7 separate regions of the Homo sapiens genome follow, and regions 2, 3, 4, 5, 6 and 7 are each linked to region 1. The links are contacts of gene promoters, found by promoter capture Hi-C in blood cells and fetal thymus (Javierre and others, 2016). All regions are on one chromosome and are shown on one strand. Each heading gives the region's core, a stretch centred on a gene start or on the middle of the fragment in contact. The rest is flanking DNA. Distances are from core to core; before and after follow the strand shown.

Region 1 (2,983 bases), core at 321-2,820:
ACTGAAAAGGGGGAAATGTTCTCGTCATTACGTTACCCCAAATCCTTACCCAGGTTCACAAAGCTCATGACCATGTCCGCGTCGTTGAGGAAGGCGCTGTCCTGCGCGCTGGTCAGTGGGGACGCGCCGCCGCTGCCAGATCCGGGGGCCAGAAGGCTCTTGCGGTTGAGCGGGTGCGCGGCGCCCGGGGGCGGCTGCCGACGCTGGGACGAGCTGGCTGCTTCGTGGGGCCAGGACTGCTGCCTCTCCCCCTCCGACGCCCCGTCCTCGTCGTTGTCGGCGGACAGGGCGTTGTACAGATCCAGCATGAAGAGGGGCGCGGACTTCAGTCGCCCGGGAGGGGGCTCTCCGCGAGGCAGCTGCTGCTGCTGCTGCTGCTCCTCCTGCTGCCGGAGCGCCGGGGGCTGCGGCTGTTGGAGGCCGTGCAGGGGCCGGGGCCGGTGCGGGAGCCCCAGCACCGACAAGATCTCCTTCTGCATCTCCCGCTTCTCCTGCGTCTTGAGCCGCCGGTACAGGAAGCCCGAGGAGGACTGCGGCGACGGCGGCGGCTGCTCCGTGCGGCCGGGGCTCCCGCCGTCCCCCAGCAGCTGCCCCCCGGCGGCGGCGGCCGCGGCAGCGGGCAAGGGCGGCCGCAGCGGCGGGGGCCCGCAGCAGCTGCACAGCAGCCCCCACCACCAGCACAGCCACTGCGCCCTCCGCCCCAGCCCCGGCATCCCCGCCCGGCCGGGCTGCCCCCGCGGATCCCGCGAGGCGTGGAGCGGCGGAGCGAGGCCGGAGCGCGGCCGCTGTGGCCCTTGGCGTGAGCAGTCCCCGCCACCTCTCGGCGGGCTCGCTTCCCCTTCCTGGCCCTCAGTCCTTATCTCTCATGGTCGTCCGGGGCGCCCCCAGTTGCCCAGGCTAGAGAGGTGGCGAAGGGGCGATCACCAGGAGAACCGCTTGGAGGGGAGGAAGGGGAGCCTCACAGCCTCGCGCAGGTCTCTAGAGGCGCGCGGTCCAGGCCAGGTGCGTCTGAGTCCGGGCTGCACTGCAGCCTGCGCCCTGGCTCCTGCGAGTCGCGGCGCGGTCACTCTGGGCCTCGCTGGCCGCACACGTGCGCTGCCCCGCGCTCTCCCTGGCGACTGAGTGGGACCCGGGGCAGCGGGGAGCGGGGCCGCTCACGAGCTGCGGGAGATGCCCGGCATCACCGTGGCGCACGCCCCTCCCCAGATCGCAGGGCCACCATGAAGTTTACCCCGTTGCAGGGCCCAGGCTGCGGCGACAAGGCGTCCCGAAATGCCAGTCTATTCCGCGAGGTTTAACTTCCTTCTCGCTCACGAACTCCGCGCCCCTGAGCTCTCGGGCACCGTCGCTCCCACTCAAAATCTCCGCGCGCCGCACGCCTCCTCAAGCGGAGGCGGCGAGGATCTTGCTTTCCGTTCGGCGGTCGCCCGGCTGCCCAGCAAACCCGCTCGCAGAAAGGATGGGAAGGAAGGGGGCTAGTGCACCGAGCAGCGGCCGCGGCGGCGGCGCCGGAATTCGGTCTCCCGCCTCTCCACGCCGCGCTCCCCGCAGCGGCCAACGTGGGCTTTCTGCTGCGCGCCCGGCTCAGGTACCTCACTCCAGCCCCGGGACTCCCCGCCCCGCGGTAACCGACAGGCTGGCAGCCAATGGGGACGCGAAGCTCGCGGGCTATTTAAATAGCCCCGCCCCTTCTTTCACCCTCCCTCTCCCGAGAGGCGTCGCCTCCGCCGCGCGTAGGTTTCAAGACCCGGGAATTCTTGGAGGCATGCGAAGAGCCGCGAGGTGCCAAAGGCGAAGAGGTCATCGCTAGTAAGAATGATCTGACCAATACCCCGATCTGAAGCTTTCTCTTTTACCATCATTTAAAAGGCCTAAGTTGATGCTTTAACTAAATAAAAATAATAACAGCGATTAAATCACTATACTGCCAGAACTGAGGAAGAAAAGAAAAATGATAGCTTTTCCATCCCTTCCTTAGTTTCTCTTATTGATGTAATGTAGGCGTTTAGCGGACACGTGGCTTTCCACGGCAGCTGCTGGAAGTTGGGACACACCCTCCGGGGAGGCTACTCACAAACTGACCACAGAGAGGGCCACATGTAACCCAAGCCAGCGTCCTGAGGGTTTGGGGTCGGATGTGTTGACTTCTCTGTTCATTTGTGCTTTGGTTTGGCTTCTTAAGCTAGCACCCAAAAGAAAGAGGGTGTAATCAGACGATATATTAGAAAAGGCGTCCCCTGTCTTCTTGGAAATGTCTTGATTCTCCAGCTTATCTATTAATGTTGCATTTTAATATTGAAATACAATGTGACTTATATGGTGCAAGATAAAACTTGAGGAGAGGTGATAAAGATAACTCCAGGAAGAGCAGGGGCTTGGCATGCATTCTGAATGGTCAGGACAATAGACAGGGTCCTGAAACACAGGTTCCTGTGGATTTTAGACAAGATAACACCACCACCAACACCATTTGCCAATGAGGACACAAATTCATTTGCCTTTACCCCGCCCGAGAACATCCAGTCATCTATGGATCGTAGAAGCAAATTCACGTAAAACATGAAGGTTTTTTACTTGGTGAAAATTGTGTGGAGTTGAAAATAAAAACTGCAATTTTCTGACTTGCCAGCCTTAGTCCAAATGGTCCTAGGCATTTGAGAGTGAAGTCAAATAGATTATAGACTGTGGGATTCATGAATTTATGAGATCATAGGCTTTCTGTTGGTCCAAATCTTATAAGCATTCCTATCCTATTTCCAAGAATCTATTTCTCATGGGTAAATAGAGACCACCACTGACTCCAACTACCCACTGAGTCCTTCTTTCTAGTTCTGCCTTGGCCCAGACACAAGTGGTCATTTAGAAGAGTCTTTATTTCTACAAATATCTGATAGCTATGAATTTCAGGGCACAAAACTTATGTGAATGCCAGTCTTTAACCATCTCTACAGGGATTTCTTCCATCCGAAAAGATAATACGATA
Region 2 (2,983 bases), core at 335-2,834, 230 kb before region 1:
ATTAAAATGAAGTTAATAAACTTTCTCTTCAAAGACAATTTTTACAATTGTTTTATGAACCTAGTTATAGTCTACATTAACTATACACAGTGTACATTCTTAATCCCTTTCATTCCTGGACTTGTATTTTAAGATCTCTGTTGAATTCAGTATTCAACTTTACATGTTGTCTAACCCTAAAGATAACTTTCCTTCCCGTAACACTAGAAAACATAATCACAGGAAATTCCGAAGAATTTCAGTTCCTAAAGTGGGAGATTGTAAGATCTGAAAGGAAAATGAGCTATAATAAGCCACAGAAGGTGAGAACCTGTGGAAGTTCGGGTTGTCAGTTGTCTCTTCAGCATATGAAGCTCTTCTTCATGTCATCATTTAATATACTTGGTGCTAAAATGACTCTCGTGGAGTAACCAAATCAAATCTGTATTCACTACAACAAAACTTTCCAACTTCCCCTGCCATTCTCATGTTTAAGAACCATTTATCTTTTTTTTTTTTTTTTTTGAGACAATGTCTGTCTCTGTCAGTCACTTAGGCTGGAGTGCAGTGGTGCGATCTCGGCTCACTGCATCCTCCGCCTCCCAGGCTCAGGTGATTCTCCTGCCTCAGTCTCCTGAGTAGCTGGGATTACAGGCATCTGCCACCATGCCCAGCTAATTTTTGTATTTTTAGTGGAGACAGAGTTGCGCCATGTTGGCCAGGCTGGTCTCAAACTCCACCCACCTCGGCCTCCCTAAGTGCTGGGATTACAGGCATAAGCCACCATGCCCAGCTCATTTTTCTTATATTGAATATTGACGATGAAACAAAGAGCAACCACTTTTCCTCTCGTGGCCCTACTTGCAGGGCTGGAATCTGTGACACTACTGTGCATCCCTTATTAACGTCCTAGTGGCAAGTACACTGAGGTGTGGCCTGATGGCCCATTCTGTGTCACTATCTCTACTCTCTCCAGGAACTGAGCCATACCCATATACATAAGAGATCCAACACCAGATGTCAAAAAGTCAATGTTTATTTAGGAAAGGAAATATGTCATTGAGTGATTAACTCCTAAAAGCAATGGTTAAACTTTTGAATCATTGGAATTGAGCACCACGTTTCTTCTTTACTTTGTAGTTGAGCTTATTTACTGGGCACTTGGGTTTTCAGTAAGAAAGCCACATGGTCGCTGTCAACATCAAGCGCTTCCTAAGACTAGTCTGTAAAATTAGCCTGGGAAATTACGGAGTTGATAACTTCCTGCTCTGAGAGGAGCTTTTGAACCTTTCCGGGGACCTACCGGGGTAGATTCCACTCAGATGTGAACTCCTGAAGGCAGGAGAAGCCTGTGCACATGGAAGGATGCTAAAATCCACAACTACGTGGCGGTGAATGGTGTAGGCTGCTTATAAGGAATGTTTCACTCAAGGAACATACGGTCCCCAAAACCATTGTCATTTAAAAAGCAGAGGCCGAGCACGGTGGCTTATGCCTGTAATCCTAGCACTTTGGGAGGCTGAGGCAGGTGGATCACCTAAGGTCAGGAGTTGGAGACCAGCCTGGCCAATGTGGCGAAACCCCATCTCTACTAAAAATACAAAAATTAGCCGGGCATGGTGGCCGACGCCTGTAATCCCGGCTACTCGGGAGGCTGAGGCAGGAGAATCGCTTGAACCTGGGGGGCGGAGGTTGCAGTGAGCTGAGATCGCACCATTGCACTCCAGCCTGGGTGACAGAGCGAAACTCCATCTCAAAAAAAAAAAAAACTTTAAAAAATAAAATAAAAAGGAGAGTAAAAAGTGGCCCCATCCTTCTATTGTGGGCAAGTTGCAGGTTATCTCAATGACCTGACACATAGTAGTTCTCAGCCACTGAGGCTGACAGGCACTGGTGAGCTTGCTTGGCTGGTTCAGTTGGTTACAGACTAAGGATTCCCTGTCTGTTTCCTTTCAGGTCAGTTCTCGTGGTTTAGAGGAAACACTCTAACCTGTGGTCACAAGCATTACCTTTGGCCAATTCACCCAAAGCCAAAGCATTTAAACTTCTATTATACAATTATATTCTTGGTTCCATAGAAGGAGACAGTGGTAAACAGCCCATAGAAGCCACTTTCTAAATACTATCCTTTCCCCCCCAGGCTTATTAAGATATGATTGAAAAATAGAAAATTGGCCAGATGGGGTGGCTCACGCCTGTAATCCTAGCACTTTGGGAGGCCGAGGCGGGCAGATCACAAGGTCAGGAGTTCGAGACCAGCCTGGTCAACATGGTGAAACCCCATCTTTACTAAAAATACAAAAATTAGCTGGGCATGGTGGTGCACACCTGTAATCCCAGCTACTCAGGAGGCCCAGGCTGGAGAATCGCTTGAACCCAGGAGGCAGAGGTTACAGTGAGCTGAGCTTGTGCCAGTGCACTCCAGCCTGGGCAACAGAGTGAGACTCCGTCTCAAAAAAAAAAAAAAAAAAAAAGAAAAGAAAATTAAAGTGTAAAACATGGTGTTTTGATGTAAGTATATCTTATGTAATAATTGCCACAAACAAGCTAATTAACATACCCATCACCTGAGATAGTTATTCTCTGTATGTGTGGTGAGAACACTTTAGGTCAGTCTCTTAGTGAATTTCAAGTACACAGTGCAGTATTATTGAGTGTAGTCACCATGCTGCACACTAGAGCTCTAGGACTTACTCATTAACTGGAAGTTCATACCCTTCCGTCAACCTCTCCCCATTTACTCCGCCCTCCCCCAGCCCCTGGAAATGACCTTTCTCTGTTTTCTTAAGTTTGACTTTTTTTAGATTCCACATAAAAGTGATATCTTGCAATATTTGTCTTTCTGTGTCTGGCTTATTTCACTTGGTATATCATCCTCCAAGTTTATCCACGTTATTATAAATGACAGGATTCTTTCCTTTTTTAAGGCTGAATAATATTCCATTACACAGTCTATCCTCTTGGTTTGTCCAACTTACAAGTTTTTTTCTAGAGATAAATGTTT
Region 3 (2,983 bases), core at 263-2,762, 210 kb before region 1:
GACTCTGTCTCAATTAAAAAAAAAAAAAAAGAATATCAAGGATGACACCATTTGGGTTTGTCTTTAGAGCTCGACTGTAAAATTCCATCACTAGCCTTATTTGCATTTAAAAACTGCTTATCGTCCTACACAAGGGACAAAGTTTAGAACTGCTATGGAAAATTTTTTTTCCTAGGGGAAGAGTTAATTTCTCCCTTCACTTCTGCCAACAGAAGTTTCCAGGGTGTAGGGCACTTCTTAAAGTCCTTATGAGGTCCTCATTATTGTGTCTATTTTGCAGACAAAAAACTTTGCCAGCAAGTCTTTGGCAGAGACAGCCCTGTAACTCAGAAATTCCAGACTCCAGCCTCAGTGACACAGATGTGAGCAGTGGTAGCTGCTACCACTGCCGACGAGTAGCTCTTTCTGGTGGGGTCCCTGGAGCTGCTCGGCTGAACATAGCAACACAACACACCTCAGAACCCCACGACTCTTCCTTTGATACAAAAGGGAGGTTGCTGCTGTGGGTGTCAGGGTTTGGCTGGAGCAACAAAAATCACATTTATGTTTATGAAAAATTGCAGAGAGTTTTTTTAATTGAGCAGAAAAATTATACTTACATCACTGAGGTTTGTCCATCATTAAATGCATGTGGTATATTTTATATTATGTCTGACCTAGGTGTGTGAGGCTGTAGATTCTTCTGTGTTTAAACACTGAGCAAGGAGGCACAACTGAGTAAATACTAGGTATCCAAGACCTGATTTTTTATGAACTTGGCTTCACAGTTCTCCCATTATTAGTAAGTCTGAAGACTTAGGATATTACATTGATTTTGTTACCTGAATGCAATCAGTTGTTAAAGTTTCTTAACCTTTTATGTTTACACATATGGATTAAAAAGAGAAGATAAAGAAGATAACAAAGACATAGCCACAGGAGATGAAATATGGAATAAAGGCTGGGTGCGGTGGCTCATACCTGTAATCCTAGGACTTCAGGAGACCAGTGGCGGATCATCTGAGGTCAGGAGTTTGAGACCAGCCTGGCCAGCTGATGGAAATCTGTCTCTACTAAAAATACAAAAATTAGTTGGGCGTGGTGGTGGGCACCTGGAATACCAGCTATTTGGGAGGCTAAGGCAGGAGAATCACTTGAACCCAGGAGGCAGAGGTTGCAGTGAGCCGAGACTGCACCATTGTACTCTAGCCTGGGCAACAAGAGAGAAACTCTGTCTCAAAAAAAAAAAAAAAGAAAGAAAGAAAGAAAGAAAAAGAAAAAAAGAAATATGGACTAAAATTCTCTAAAAAAAGATTTTTATTTCTATGGAGTTATAACTTCACTAAACAGCAAAGAGAGAAGAAGAGAAAATATACTTGTTAAATTTTTAAAAATATTTTTGTAAGTTTTTCATAAGAGATTCTGTTTATAAGTAACTTTGAAATTAATTTTATTGTCTTTGGTACCAGAAATTTTGACTCAAACAAAGAAAGTTTGGATATGTGCATTAAGTGAAATAGATGTGTTGAGTGATGCAGTATCCTTCGGAAGTAAAAAGGAATAAACTGATGCATCTTTAGACATTTGAATGTCAAGCACTGAGAAGTTGCCTTTTTTCAGAGACAGGTGTTAATTTACTCTGAATTAGTGTACATATAATAAGTGGTAGGATATTTCTAAATCAGCTATTTATTAAATAAAATACAATAGGGACTGTGGAGTCTTTCACTGGTTAGTGAAGGTATTAAAGTTTGCTCAAACTTCTTAATTTAAAGCAAATAAATTTACAAATAGATTAATTGTGAAGGCAGTGTCCAGTTTACAGTCCATATACTCTACAATGCAAAAATAATAAAAATTCTAAATTTTCAGGTTTAGAATGTGCAATTTGGAAGGTTCATATAGTTTAAGAGAAAAGGAAGGGAAAAAAAACCGTTGTAATCACCACACCTAAGATAATTATGCTTTTTTACTTTTTCATTTTGAGACAGAGTCTCATTGTGTCACCCAGGCTGGAGTGCAGTGGCACAATCTTGGCTCACTGCAACCTCCACCCCCCTGGCTCAAGCAATTCCCCTGCCCCAGCCTCCCGAGTAGCTGGGATTACAGGTGCATGCCACCACGCCTGTCTAATTTTTTTGTATTTTTAGTAGAGATGGGGTTTCACTGTGTTGGCCAGACTGGTCTTGAACTCCTGACCTCAGGCAATCCACCTGCCTTGGCCTCCCAAAGTGCTGGGATTACAGGCATGAGCCACCATGCCCGGCCTGCTCTTTCATTTGAAAAAGATGTTCTGGTCTCTCAGGTAAAGATGTTTGGGTTGGGGACACAATTTATTTCTAAACACTAATTCCACAACCAATTCTACATAAATAACCTAAGAAAAGTAAATTTAGCAAAAGCCTCTACTTATACAGAAATCTAAGGAAGAAAATCATTAAAACGGCAGAAAGAAGTCCCACCTTGAGGGATGACACAGCCTCCCGGGAAGTGATGGGCAAAGTTCTGTTCCCTGTGAATCTCTAGGCTTGGAGGGCAGAGTTCTGGAGGAAAGAGTGGGCTGCGAAACTCACCTGGGGCTATGGTCTGAATGTTTGTGTCCCTACCAAATTCATATGTTGAAACCTAATCACCAGTGTGCTGGTATTAGGAGGTGAGTCTTTGGGAGGTGGTGAGATCATGAGGGTGGAGTGCTTGTGAATGGGATTAGTGCCCTTATAATAGAGGCCAGAGAGCTGCCTTCCCCTTTTCACTATGTGAGGACACAGTAAGAAGGCACCATCTGTGAAACAGCAAGAAGACCTCCCTAGAAACTGAATCTACCAGCACCTTGACCTTGGACTTCCCAGCCTCCAAAACTGTGAGCAATAACTTTCTGTTGTTTCTAAGCCACCCAGTCTGGTGGTATTGTTACAGCAGCCCGAATGAACTAAGATACCTGGAAAGCTCCAGGTGAAGGGAGTCTAGGTATGTGGACTGCCAGGATCCCTGTTTTGGGGGTCAA
Region 4 (2,983 bases), core at 307-2,806, 190 kb before region 1:
CACCAGTATCTTGTGCTGGGATGGTTGTAATTGCTCCCGGAGTGGTCGCCTCCCTTCTATCCTTGCCCCCTTCGCATTCCTCGCTACAGCTCTCAGAGCCATGCTGTAGAAATAATTGGAAGCCAGATCCTGTCGTGTTTCTTCTGAAAACCCTCCGATGACTTCCCTTCTCATTCGTAAAAGCCAGTGTTCTCATTCTGTACTGCCTTCTTATTCATTCGCTCTAAGTCCTTTGCAGTTGCTGATCCCTCGGCTGGAACCAGATATTCACATGTGTTACTCCCTCACGTCTTTACTTGAAAGCCATGTCCCCAATAAGCCTATCCAAACCCTGACATCCCATCTGAACCTTGACACTTCATACCCCCTTCCTTGCCTTGTTTTCTTCTGGGCTTCTACCACTGGCTAACATAGTGTTTATCTTCTATATCTTACGTATTGGCTGTTTCCCCACCTACAATGGAAGTTCATTAGGACTAGGGTTTTTGTCTATTTCAGTTGTTGCTGATCCTCAGCACCTAAAAACGTGCCTGACACAGACTAGATCCAATAAATATTTGTTGAGTGAATTCTCTTGCAATTAAATGCACACAATGGAAGAGGAGATGTTGCAGCTATAATAAGCAAAGGAAACCAGACATTGATCCTTCCATGTGAAATACGACCCAAGCTTCTATATATAATACTTCACAGAGTGTTCTGCAGAGGATTAACAACACAAGAGACACCACAAATAAAAAGGAGTCCACAATCAAATAAGTTGGGAAATACTGCATAGGATACTTTTAGGAATTCAGATGGTGCAATCGCAAATAAAAATCTCTGATAAATCATTTAGGAAATAGGTTTCTATCTTTTTCTTTCTTCTTCCATTAGCACTTCATCCAGCCAATTCTTAAGTAGTCTTCAAGGCACAGTGTGTTGGCCAGGTGTGGTGGCTCATGCCTGTAATCTCAGCACTTTGGGAGGCTGAGGTGTGCAGATCACCTGAGGCCAAGAGTTTGAGGCCAGCCTGGCCAACATGGTGAAATCCTGTCTCTACTAAAAATACAAAAATTAGCTTGGTGTGGTGGTGGGCGCCTGTAATCCCAGCTATTTCAATGGCTGAGGCATGAGAATCGCTTGCATCCAGGAGACAGAAGTTGCAGTGAGTCAAGGTTGCACCACTGCACTCCAGCCTGAGAAATAGAGTGAAATTCTGTCTCCAAAAAAAAAAAAAAAAAAGGACTCAATGTATCAACAGTTGACATTCTTTCAGGCTGCCCAGCTTCACTGGACACCTTTCCTGCATTTGTGGAGCCTCTGACCTAACCGCCACAAGTTAGGATAGAGCATAGACCATTGAGCCCTACTGCAGTGAGGCTTCCATTGGAAGCTAGTTTTGCGAAGAAGCAGGGGTCATGCAAAGTCCATCCTGCAGGGCAGCGGTTGCAGAGGTTCCCATGGTCACATATAGTGTCCTGTACCAGAGGTGGGATAGGAGGAATCTGCATGTCGAGGTGGTAGCAGTGGTGGCAGTATTGTGATCTAATTTGAGCAGTATTGTGATCTAATTTGAGCAGTATTGTGGTCTAATTTGGGCATTGTTCCTGGCTTCTCTATCTCCTAACCCTAACCCTAACCAAGTGTTCCTCAAACATGTCTCAGTCAGAGCTCTTCTCTTAAGAAAACACCTATTAACTTCCAGCAAACATCAGCGTTCCTTTGGTGGTCTGCTCCACATCTGTGCTCTCAGAGCCCTGCTACAGTCCGCCACAGGCGCACCAGGGACTGAGATCCTGGCTGTGTCTCCTCTAATCCCAGGAATTCTCAACCCTAGGAAGTAGGACAAAGCCATCAGTATTGCTTTCAAGACCTAGATGATTGCAATGTGCAGCCAGAATTGAGAACCCCCAGGTAGGATAAACATTTTCCTGGATTCTGAACTTGGAATAGTGTTCTGAAATTCAGGCAGCTATGAAGAGCTGGCCCCTAAGTGCTGTGAGAGGCATGTCCCCATGCCCGTGTGGAATGCCACAGATCCAAGGCCAAGGCCATCACTGCAGGCCAGCGCAGCTGAGAGAGGAGTGGAACAACTCAGTGAGCAACCTGCATCAGGGAGAAGTCTTCTCTCCTGTTATGAAGTCCAGGTGCTGGTGAGCATCAGCTTCTGGATCAGCCTATCGGCCCCGCACCTGGGGACTCTGGGAAAAATAAGAACTCCTGTAATAGCATCTAGCAGACAAAGAGCTGGGAGAATGACAGGGGCATGAACGAGAAGAGCCAGCACTTGCACAGACTGAATGAGCTCCTGGGAGCTGGAGTGAGTGTTCTGTGCACTTTGAGAAACAGCACAGATCATTCAGCTTAGTGGTCATGATCCAGTCAACAAAGAAACTCTCTTTATTCTCCTCCCCCCTACCCCCGAGACCTCACAGATCCCACATGGATTTTGAAAGCTTTTATCTGCCAAATACCCGAATCTGTTATGTTATAATGTAATGTGGGTTTTTGGTGCTTATTAATTGTTTAGTAGGCTGTGTTGCCCAAGGAGCTTGTGAGAGTAGTGAGTAAATATGACCTTTCCATTAACCATTTCAATACACTGAAAACAGCTCTACTCCCTGTGTGACTCCAGCCTGGGAATTCACTTTGGTCTTTTTCTTTAGATTTTCTCTGATGAGAGCAATCCTCTAGCTTTTTCTCCACCTCTCAACAATCACATTTGAATGGTCACATGAGCTCATCAAGAAAAACACAGTTTTTCTTCTTCTTTAGAGGCACCTACCAAGGTGTTCTGACCAAATTAGAACAACAGGATGTAAATGCTTTCAGTACCTCCTAAAAGCAGTACTGTTCGCCCAATAATAACTCAGGATGCACCTGTTAAAGTGGTTCAAATGGTGGCATTTCAGTTTCTGAATGTCCTGGGGTTGTCTTGACAATGTTACAACACATTTGGGTCTTGTGTTATCCTCTGGAGGTGGAAAACAAAAGCTGTATT
Region 5 (2,983 bases), core at 243-2,742, 170 kb before region 1:
TAGCCCGACAGCTGTACCCGTAGGGTGGATCCTTCCTTTTCTTCTCGGTGCTCAGTCCCCGAGTCTCTAATGGGCTTTGCTTATAACATCATTTTGTACCATTAATACTCTGTGTCTTAATGCACTTCCCTTACTAAGGCTAATATCAGGAGATTGTAGACTCTTAGAATATTATGTACTAAAAAGGATTTATAATCCTCCCCCTCCCCAGTTGATGTTGGAAGTCTTCACTTTTTTATAAATCATCATGATCATAAACCACTGGTTAAGTGTTCCTTTGTGGGTGGTGCCTTCTGATTAATGCCGAGTGCTCAGGTCCCTGGATGCCGGGTAGACCTGGTGGGTCATGCTGCTGTGTTGGAGAGGGACTGGAAAAACACTCGTGTTCCTACACTGTAGGATCCTGATGAGCTAGGAAGAGCATCTGAAGTCTTTGTAATTTCAATTTCAACAAATACCTAAGACTACCTTCTTGTATCAGCTAAGCGCCCACTGATTTGAAGGTGGTCTGTGGTGGTCCTTTTGGAGCTTTGCCGCTTACTGTTGCCAGTTTCCAGTGTGTCTGTGCGGCTCTTCCGCTCTGCCCCATCTTCTCTGATGACCTAATCAGAAACTTGGCTGCTGATTCAGTGCTTCCATCCCTCACCTGCAAAGACTCTCTCAACTCGGCTGGGTGTGGTGGCTCATGCCTGTAATCCTAGCACTTTGGGAGGCTGAGGCGGGTGGATCACCCAAGGTCAAGAGTTCAAGACCAGCCTGGCCAACATGGTGAAACGTCGTCTCTGCTAAAAATACAAAAATTAGCCAGGTGGTAGGTGCCTGTAATCCCAGCTACTTGGGAGGCTGAGGCAGGAGAATCACTTGAACCCAGGAGGCAGAGGTTGCAGTGAGGCGAGATCATGCCACTGCACTCCAGCCTATGCAACAGAGCAAAAACTATCGTGGAAAAAAAAAAAAAACTCTCTGAACTGTATGGTGGAGACTGTTGGTGTGTGATGTTATGTCGTTGAACCAGAGACTTACCTAACTTTAGCTAAAAGAACCACAGACCTCTCAGGAAATTTGCATCTTTGTCCTGGCAAGAAAGCTGAATGAGCAGGTGTGACTTTCATAGTTTTCAATTGGACATTGTTTCCTTTGTGAAAATATTCTCTTTGTGGGGACACATATATTGGATGGTAGCAAACCAATTTTAAGGAGGAGTTAATAGCCTCAAATAAATTTCACCAAAAAAGCCAGTCTTCTATGATGGCTTTATTCAAGAAACCAGCAGCCAGTATCAGGACGGCAGAAAGACCTCATCTCATGGCCCATTTCCCTTAGTGGAGGTGGCGGCCTCACCTGCAGGTTGGAAAGGGCTGAGAGGCTGCGTCCAGGCTCTGCAAGGGACTTTCTGTCTCCTCAGTGTGGGAGCAGGATGGCCGCGTGTAATCCCCCCATGCCACCCCAGAACCACAGTCACCAACTTGCCATATTTTAGTGTCTCCAGCAATAGCAGGCCCCAGATAATTGCCAGAAACAATGACAATGCGCCTTATTGTGGAAAAGTTTAAGTATATACACTTTATACTGCAAACCAGAATTCTCTTAGCTTTTTAAGTGAAAACTTTAAAAAAAGTTCTTTATCTGTATACCTAAGTAACTTAGTACATACATTTTTTAATATTCACGTGGGATAAATTTAGATTTTTTTAAGTGTTGTGGCAATATTCAAGAAACTCAAAAGACAATTTGTCACTTTGTACATTCTACTGCAATTTTTGTATTTCCATGTTTGCTTCTGTATTTTTTCTTGAACAGTTATACAAACATGTTTCATCTCATTAATGATTTTATATATTTATGTGGTCTTTATGTTGATCATGTCTTATATTATTTTATCATGTGGATTTGCCATAATTCAACTCTAATTCTGTCAGTGGATATTTAGGTTATTTATACCTTTTCCATCATCAGTAATGATGTAGGGAACAAGTTTATCTTTGTAAAGGACTTTCCACCCCCCCTTCTTTTGAGTGATATTTTTAGAATATAGTATTCCCAGACATAAAATTATAAGGCCAAGAATAAAAAAAAAGATCATTTTTATGGCTCTTGATGAATATAGCCAGGTTTCTTAAGCACCATATCAGCTTATGCTGCCACTGTAGGGCAAGACGTGACCTGTTTCTGGGATGCACTGTGGTGTTCCCATGCCGGGGGACTGCTCTGGAGTCTGCCAGGAACCCAGGAAGCAACTAGAGGCCCCGCATGTGCCATAAATGAACACTTCATACTGAAAGGCCCTTGAACATCTCATGGAGAGTGGCACACGGTATTTTATTTCACCTTATGTGCACCCATTGACTGTTCACTTAGCCATTCTTCCCTTGGGCATTGTTTTGTGTGGGTATTTAGCACTTTGAAAGTCTTGACGCGCTGGCAGCAGAAGGGAAACTTTGTGGTTCTTTATGATTCCAGCCCTGCACAGCTTTGAACTGTCAGCACCTTTAAAGCCTTTAACAACTTAGCTTGGATATTCTTTTTAATAGGAATATGAACCCCCAGATAAAAGCTGAGTAATATACACTTAATGTGTCTGCAGCAGAACACTGATTCCATTATCTTTCCCTCATTTCTGGTTACTTTGGTTGGAAGCCACAGCTGTACCTGGTCTGAAAAGTTGAGAAATGTAGGATTGTGACTAGACAGCTGCACACATTGCTGTCTGCTTGGGTCCTGGCAGAAGCATCTTTTGAAAAGCCCCTTTCCCCCTCTTTCTGTATGAGACTTAGTCATATGAATTACATTCTTTCTTGAAGGTGCAGCTTATGTTCATGCCATGGTTTTCTCTCTGTTGCCTTTCATTCACCTGCATTTTCCTTCTCATCACCTCCTTTTCTCTCTGATCAGTCTTCCACAGTTGTGTCTTCCTCACAGTTTTCCCTGTCATTTGTGTAAAGTAAGGATAACCAGGCCTTCCTGGTCCCTGAGTTTCTCATTC
Region 6 (2,983 bases), core at 345-2,844, 150 kb before region 1:
CTTTCAAGACAGCTGCCGGGCCAGAAGAGTATCCTGAAGGAAGAGTAATGGTGGAGTGGGGCCAAACCAGGAGGCCCAGGAACGGGGGAGAGGGAGACACCACGCAGGGGCAATGCTCTCTCTGGCTGTACTCCCACCTCACTGCCAGGGTTGAGCTCTTGTGTGCTGATGCAATAACACTAAGCCAGGGGTTCCTCAGGAGACTCTGCTGAAGTGCATGTACCCACCCTGTGCAGCACAGGGGCCACTAGCCTGGCTTAACTGAATCACCAGCAAGAGCACTGGGGGTGCCCCAATTCACTGAGGCCCACTGGAGCGACTCTTACGTGACATGCCTTCTGCCTGGCACCACGGCCAATAGACGGTAAGTCAGACATGGCTTTCCTCCCTCCAAGAACTCAGTGAATGAAGGGGTGGTGTAAAACAGACACACAAATAACTCCAATACAAACCAGAACATGGATGCTACGGGCAAAGGCCATAGGCAAATATCACACAGGCAAGGGCCATAGGCAAATGTCCCTTCAGAGAAGGGACAGTTCAGAGTGGGAGTGAGAGGAAGAGAGAGGAGTTCTGCTGGAATGGATTTAAGGATGTGTCAAGCAGGGTCGGATGAGATAAAGCTGGAGAAATGAATGGCCTAGGCTGCCAACCACAATGCTTCGGACTTCCCACCAGAGGCACAAAGTGAGCCTTTGCAGGGTTCTGAGCTGCAGAGCAGCATTTCCCGCTGTGATTCGAAAGGATTAATCCATCTGGAGTTGTGTTGGAGAGTTCGAGAAACGACGGAGAGAGAAAAGGCAAGGAGAAGGCTTTAGAGAAAGGTCATCTAATGTGGGATGTCAGTGGGTGTAAGAGCCTAGGTCATTTGCAGGCTATCCCTTCCCTTTTCAACTACATAAGCCAGTAAGTCACCTAATTGTTGAAAGCCTGTTTGAACTTGATTTTCTAACTTCTAACTCCCAGTCTTCCTGGCTCTGAAGCAGGAGAGAGCGTGCAGATTTCATTAATTTTTTTTTTTTTCTTTTGAGACAGAGTCTTGCTCTGTTACCCAGACTGAAGTGCAATGGCACGAGCTCGGCTCACTGCAACCTCTGCCTCCTGGGTTCAAGCGATTCTCCTGCCTCAGTCTCCCGAGTAGCTGGGACTACAGGCGCGAGCCACCATGCCCAGCTAATTTTTTGTATTTTTAGTAGAGATGGGGTTTCAACACATTGGCCAGGCTGGTCTCGAACTACTGACCTTAAGTGATCTGCCCATCTCAGCCTCCCAGAGTGCTGAGATTACAGGTGTGAGCCACCATGCCCCACCAGATTTCATGATTTTTTAAGGAAAAGAGACAGTGACTCAGGCCAGTGGCCTATACTGGGAGAAGAGATGGGGCAACTTTTTTAGGTGGTTTATAATTCTAAATTTATTTATCCTCTCCACCTGCCTATGTTACCCAACAGAACCACCCTGCCTTTAACTTTAAGGACCCCAGAGAAGCCCTGGAGGGAAATTTTCACAATGCAGGACAAGGACTCTCTCAGTAAAAACAATCAACCAACTATCACCATAAGACAGAAACTTCCTACTGAAAAGAACCCCTGAACAAAAATGAATCAGCCACACAAAGTCTCTCAAGAGGATGGCTGGAATGCAAGGGAAGACCCAGAGGACCCCAGAGACTGTGGATAAGAGTCATCTGAACTAAGCTCTAAAGGAAGAATACCAAAACAAAACAAAACAATAACAAAACTAAAAACAAAAACTAGAGGAAAAAAAAGGAAGAATACCTAAAATAATGGAAGGAAGAAAAGAAGGACTAGAAACCTTAAAACAAAATTATGGGGAAAAAACATGAAAAAAGAACAGGTAGATGTAAAAAGAGTCAAATAGAACTTTATAAAAACCATAACCATTGAAAATAACAATGAAATCAGATTAGATATAACTAAAGATCAGATTAAACAGGTTAAACATTAGTTGTCTAATTAACAGATTAAACAGATTACTTAACAGATTAGTTATACATTAAACAGATAATCATCAAATTACACATAACTGAAGACAGAATTAAAGAATTCAACAGTATATTTGAAATCTCTTCAAATATAGCACAGAATCAAATGGCCAAAATACATGACTGTCTCTTTGTAAAGAGACATGGAAGAGAGAATGAAAAGTCCAACAAATTTCTAATAGGAATTTCGGAAGGCAGTAATAGGGAGTAGTAGTATTTGAAGACATAATGACTGGGAATTTTCTACAACTAAAGAAAGGCAAACATCTTTAAGTTGAAAAGGCCCAAAGAGTTCCAAGAGGATCAGATAAATTCTTATCTAGCCACATGTAGTGAAATTATATCAAACACATAAATTCTTAAAAGTAATCCAGAGATAAAAAGAAAATTACTAAGAAACACAAAATGGATAGCAAACTTAACAAAAATACACATTAAAAAATTAAATAATATGAAAATGATGCCATCAAACCTAGAATGCCATACCCAGCTGTAGTGGATATTTACTGCTTTTGCTACCCAGCTTTTGGCAACACTTCGCATGTGGGGGAATGCCTAGATAGGTGGGACTCAGAGCCCCATTTCCCACGACAGATAGCTCCCCTCTTTGTCCCCTAGCATCTGAAGTACGGACTCATGACTTCATCAAAGCCAATCAAATGTCTCCACCCTGCAGTGTATAACCTGAGGGAGTGACTCAAAGGTGACATCAAGAATGGGTAGTACGGCAGCCAGTGTCTAGGGTGATGACCACATTGGAGGGATCCAAAGCACATTGTTCCATGACTAGATCTGAGCCTTGATTTCCTGAATTAAGTCTCCAGCCTTTTTGTTGATTGGGTAAGTTCCCTGGTACGCTTTTCTCTCTCATTACAGTCTGCTTCTACTGCATGCAATCTAGAGCACTGTGATAGTTAATTTTGTGTCAACTTGATTGGACTATGGAATGCCCAAGTAGCTGATAAAACTTTTTTTTCT
Region 7 (2,983 bases), core at 328-2,827, 130 kb before region 1:
CTCCCCCATCAGGGTCAGGTAGGTATGAGAGTGCGTGCAGGAAGGCGCCCGAGGTGGCTGGTGTCAGCTGTAGATGGTGGCATAGTGGTGGAGCCCCAGTGACCCTCCCAATCTTGCTCTGCTCCTTCCAAGCAGAATATGCTGCGCCCAGCATGAGAACATCACTAATATGTTCACACCACGAGGGAGAGGAACTTGAAAAAGGAATGAAGCTTTAAGACACAACTTTATGGGCTCACCCTCAAAGCTTCCAACAACTCAGATATTGAAGAGATGCTGTTGATGACAAATCACTAAAACGGTTCTGGTCTGACCCACATGTACTAATGTTTCCTCAGGGATACATGGCCTTCCTAGTCTGCGGACTGTAAAAGTGTAGCCTCGAAGAAGATGCATCTGATTTTGCCACGTGAAAAATAAGCTTTCCCTTCTAAATCTCACTTTGGCAGAGTTCAGAAGAGATGTTCTCACCTAAAATGTGTGTCACTGATAAAGAATCCTAGAGACTGGCCAAAATCATCACCATGCCTAGATTACTTGGACCTTCCTATTGAGGTGACATACTCTCAAGGTGGCAAACCACGAAAGAAAATCTTGAAACAAGGGAAGATAATTTTTAATGCAGTTATTGACTATTTTGTTCTCAACTAACTCAGACCCTACATTTGCATGATGAATACGCTTCCAATCTTCAAGGATGTAACAGTGTTACTCTTCTCAATGTTATTCCAACCTCAGAGCGTGATATTCCTCACATTGTGGTCATCCTGGGCAAATGAGGTTCTTAACAAATTAATATGCTAGTAAGATATTTCTGGAAAATTTCAAAAATTCACCCTGGCTTTAGAGTTGATGAATCAGAAAGCCACTCATAAAGACTAGTAGAATTGGTGTTTGTGGGCAAGATTTATCCCTGCATATCCCTCCCATCACACAGCCTCCAAGGCACATGCTCACATCAGTGATACACCACTGGGCTGACAGAGAGCACCATTGCCAAAATACAGCAGGCCTTTCTCTCCTTTGCCCTCGGACAAGGGCAGGAGGTGCCTGAGCTCCTGGTGGACAGGCTTCGACCCTTTCCTGACAAACCACACACCCATCAAGGTCACAATGCCGGGGTCAAAGTACAACAGTGTTTACTACTAACCATTTTGATAGAAAAATGCTCTTGAGGCCGGGCGCGGTGGCTCACGCCTGTAATCCCAGCACTTTGGGAGGCCGAGGCGGGCGGATCACGAGGTCAGGAGATCGAGACCATCCCGGCTAAAACGGTGAAACCCCATCTCTACTAAAAATACAAAAAATTAGCCGGGCGTAGTGGCGGGCGCCTGTAGTCCCAGCTACTTGGGAGGCTGAGGCAGGAGAATGGCGTGAACCCGGGAGGCGGAGCTTGCAGTGAGCCGAGATCCCGCCACTGCACTCCAGCCTGGGCGACAGAGCGAGACTCCGTCTCAAAAAAAAAAAAAAAAAAATGCTCTTGATAAACTGGCATTTATATATTCAAAGTAAGCAGATTTATGAAATACTCAGTAAGGTGATTCTGTGGTCTTGTTCTTTATTTCTCCATAACACATTCCTTTGCATTTGTACGTCTGGACTTGATGTTACATTAAAATACAAAACAACATTCATACATGGAGGAACTGACTTTCTGCAATAAGAAAAATTCATTTTTCAAATAGAATGAAAGTAAAAAAAATCCATTTTCATTTTAGAAAATTAAGGAGTCAAGCTCATGCTTTTTACTTTTTCCTTACGTAAAGTACAGTATAGATTATGTTTAAACTTTTACCATTAGAAAGATAGAAAAGGCATCATATATTTGAAAATAAAGTACTACAAAAAAGAGTAAACTGCTGCATACATGTACACATACAAATTTGAGTAACAAAGATGAATGAACATTATTTGGCTACACTTGCATTTTTTTTTTTTTTTTTTTTTTTTACAGTCTTTGATATTACTCAATTTTCACCCAATGGCTAGCATGGTATGAAGAGACGTTTCAAATATCAAATGCACCTTGATTCTGTAGGGGCTATTTCGTCTTTAAAAAACCAATATAAATCACTTTGCTGTTAGAATATTAACATAGCAAACCTTAACATGGTGTTTACTATGCGACTGTTCTAGGTACTCTCACATATATTAATGCCTCACAACAACCGTAAGAGGTAAATACTATTAATGCTGTTACAGGTTTATAGATGAAGAAACTGAGGCACAAAGAGATTAAGTGGGCAGGGCATGGTGGCTCACACCTGTAATCCCAGCACCGTGGGAGGCTGAGGCAGGTAGATCACTTGAGCCCAGGGGTTCGAGACCAGACTGGGCAACATGGCAAAACCCTGCCTCTACAAAAAATAAAAAATTTAGCTGGGCATGGGCTGAGGTGGGAGGATCTCTTGAGCCTGGGAGGTGCAGGTTGCAGTGAGCTGAGATTGTGCCACTGCACCCCAGCCTGAGCGACAGAGCACAACTCATCTCAAAAAAAAAAAAAAAAAAAAAAAAAAAGAGAGAGAGAGAGAGATTGAGATTAAGTGGCTTGCACATGGTCACACAGCCAGCAAGGGCAGAGCTGGAATTTGAACCCAGGCAGTTTGGCTCATGTGTTGTACGTGCTCTTTTATCAGTGGTTCTCAAGTGTAGCCTGCATCAGAATCCCCTGCGGGGGCTTAACACATGGATTGCTGCCCCTCACCCCTAGGGCTTCTGACTCAGTAAGCTTGGGGAGGGGCCTGAGAATCTGCATTTCTAACAGGTTCCCACGTGATGCTGATGCTGCTGGTCTAAGAACCATACTTTGTGAGCCAAGGACCTAAAGCCAGACTACCTCTCCATGAAATATGAGCAGGACTACCTGTGCCTGTTTTGTGAACTTAGAGTTGAAAGCTATCTGCTCTCAAGATTTCTTGCTCCTCTCCCTAAAACAGTGCAAACCAAATGTAGGCTGCTCCACAAGTCAGTGTGTCTTATGGAT

The links. The method cuts DNA at HindIII sites, captures the fragments that hold promoters and counts their contacts. A CHiCAGO score of 5 or more calls a contact.
Region 2: a fragment that was not itself captured here is called in contact with the fragment with the promoter of BMP6 in region 1 in 7 of 17 cell types (endothelial precursors, megakaryocytes, naive B cells and 4 more); the score reaches 10.9 in endothelial precursors.
Region 3: a contact is called between a fragment that was not itself captured here and the fragment with the promoter of BMP6 in region 1, in 5 of 17 cell types (naive B cells, M1 macrophages, endothelial precursors and 2 more). The highest score is 6.0, in naive B cells.
Region 4: a contact is called between a fragment that was not itself captured here and the fragment with the promoter of BMP6 in region 1, in 3 of 17 cell types (megakaryocytes, endothelial precursors and naive B cells). The highest score is 7.2, in megakaryocytes.
Region 5: a fragment that was not itself captured here is called in contact with the fragment with the promoter of BMP6 in region 1 in 2 of 17 cell types (endothelial precursors and megakaryocytes); the score reaches 11.2 in endothelial precursors.
Region 6: a fragment that was not itself captured here is called in contact with the fragment with the promoter of BMP6 in region 1 in 1 of 17 cell types (endothelial precursors); the score reaches 9.6 in endothelial precursors.
Region 7: a contact is called between a fragment that was not itself captured here and the fragment with the promoter of BMP6 in region 1, in 1 of 17 cell types (endothelial precursors). The highest score is 8.1, in endothelial precursors.

The regions. Positions count from the first base shown.
Region 1 is chr6:7,724,686-7,727,668 of GRCh38, reverse strand. It overlaps BMP6 (bone morphogenetic protein 6), which reads right to left and starts at 1,570. Exons shown (of 7, transcript NM_001718.6): 1 at 50-1,570. The coding sequence starts at 713. The HindIII fragment of the contact is 3,909 bases long and covers 1-1,845 here.
Region 2 is chr6:7,957,607-7,960,589 of GRCh38, reverse strand. The region is part of intron 4 of BLOC1S5-TXNDC5 (BLOC1S5-TXNDC5 readthrough (NMD candidate)); the gene reads left to right. Among named protein-coding and RNA genes, the nearest start is that of TXNDC5, 48 kb to the right of the region's middle. The HindIII fragment of the contact is 3,377 bases long and covers 1-2,983 here.
Region 3 is chr6:7,934,750-7,937,732 of GRCh38, reverse strand. All of the region lies in intron 4 of BLOC1S5-TXNDC5 (BLOC1S5-TXNDC5 readthrough (NMD candidate)), which reads left to right. Among named protein-coding and RNA genes, the nearest start is that of TXNDC5, 25 kb to the right of the region's middle. The HindIII fragment of the contact is 5,630 bases long and covers 1-2,983 here.
Region 4 is chr6:7,917,009-7,919,991 of GRCh38, reverse strand. The region is part of intron 4 of BLOC1S5-TXNDC5 (BLOC1S5-TXNDC5 readthrough (NMD candidate)); the gene reads left to right. Among named protein-coding and RNA genes, the nearest start is that of TXNDC5, 7.7 kb to the right of the region's middle. RefSeq lists an enhancer at 1-432. The HindIII fragment of the contact is 1,768 bases long and covers 673-2,440 here.
Region 5 is chr6:7,896,040-7,899,022 of GRCh38, reverse strand. The region is part of intron 3 of TXNDC5 (thioredoxin domain containing 5); the gene reads left to right. The region is part of intron 6 of BLOC1S5-TXNDC5 (BLOC1S5-TXNDC5 readthrough (NMD candidate)); the gene reads left to right. Among named protein-coding and RNA genes, the nearest start is that of TXNDC5, 13 kb to the left of the region's middle. The HindIII fragment of the contact is 4,283 bases long and covers 1-2,983 here.
Region 6 is chr6:7,875,668-7,878,650 of GRCh38, reverse strand. All of the region lies in intron 4 of BMP6 (bone morphogenetic protein 6), which reads right to left. Among named protein-coding and RNA genes, the nearest start is that of TXNDC5, 34 kb to the left of the region's middle. The HindIII fragment of the contact is 4,534 bases long and covers 1-2,983 here.
Region 7 is chr6:7,855,088-7,858,070 of GRCh38, reverse strand. All of the region lies in intron 2 of BMP6 (bone morphogenetic protein 6), which reads right to left. Among named protein-coding and RNA genes, the nearest start is that of TXNDC5, 54 kb to the left of the region's middle. The HindIII fragment of the contact is 2,307 bases long and covers 424-2,730 here.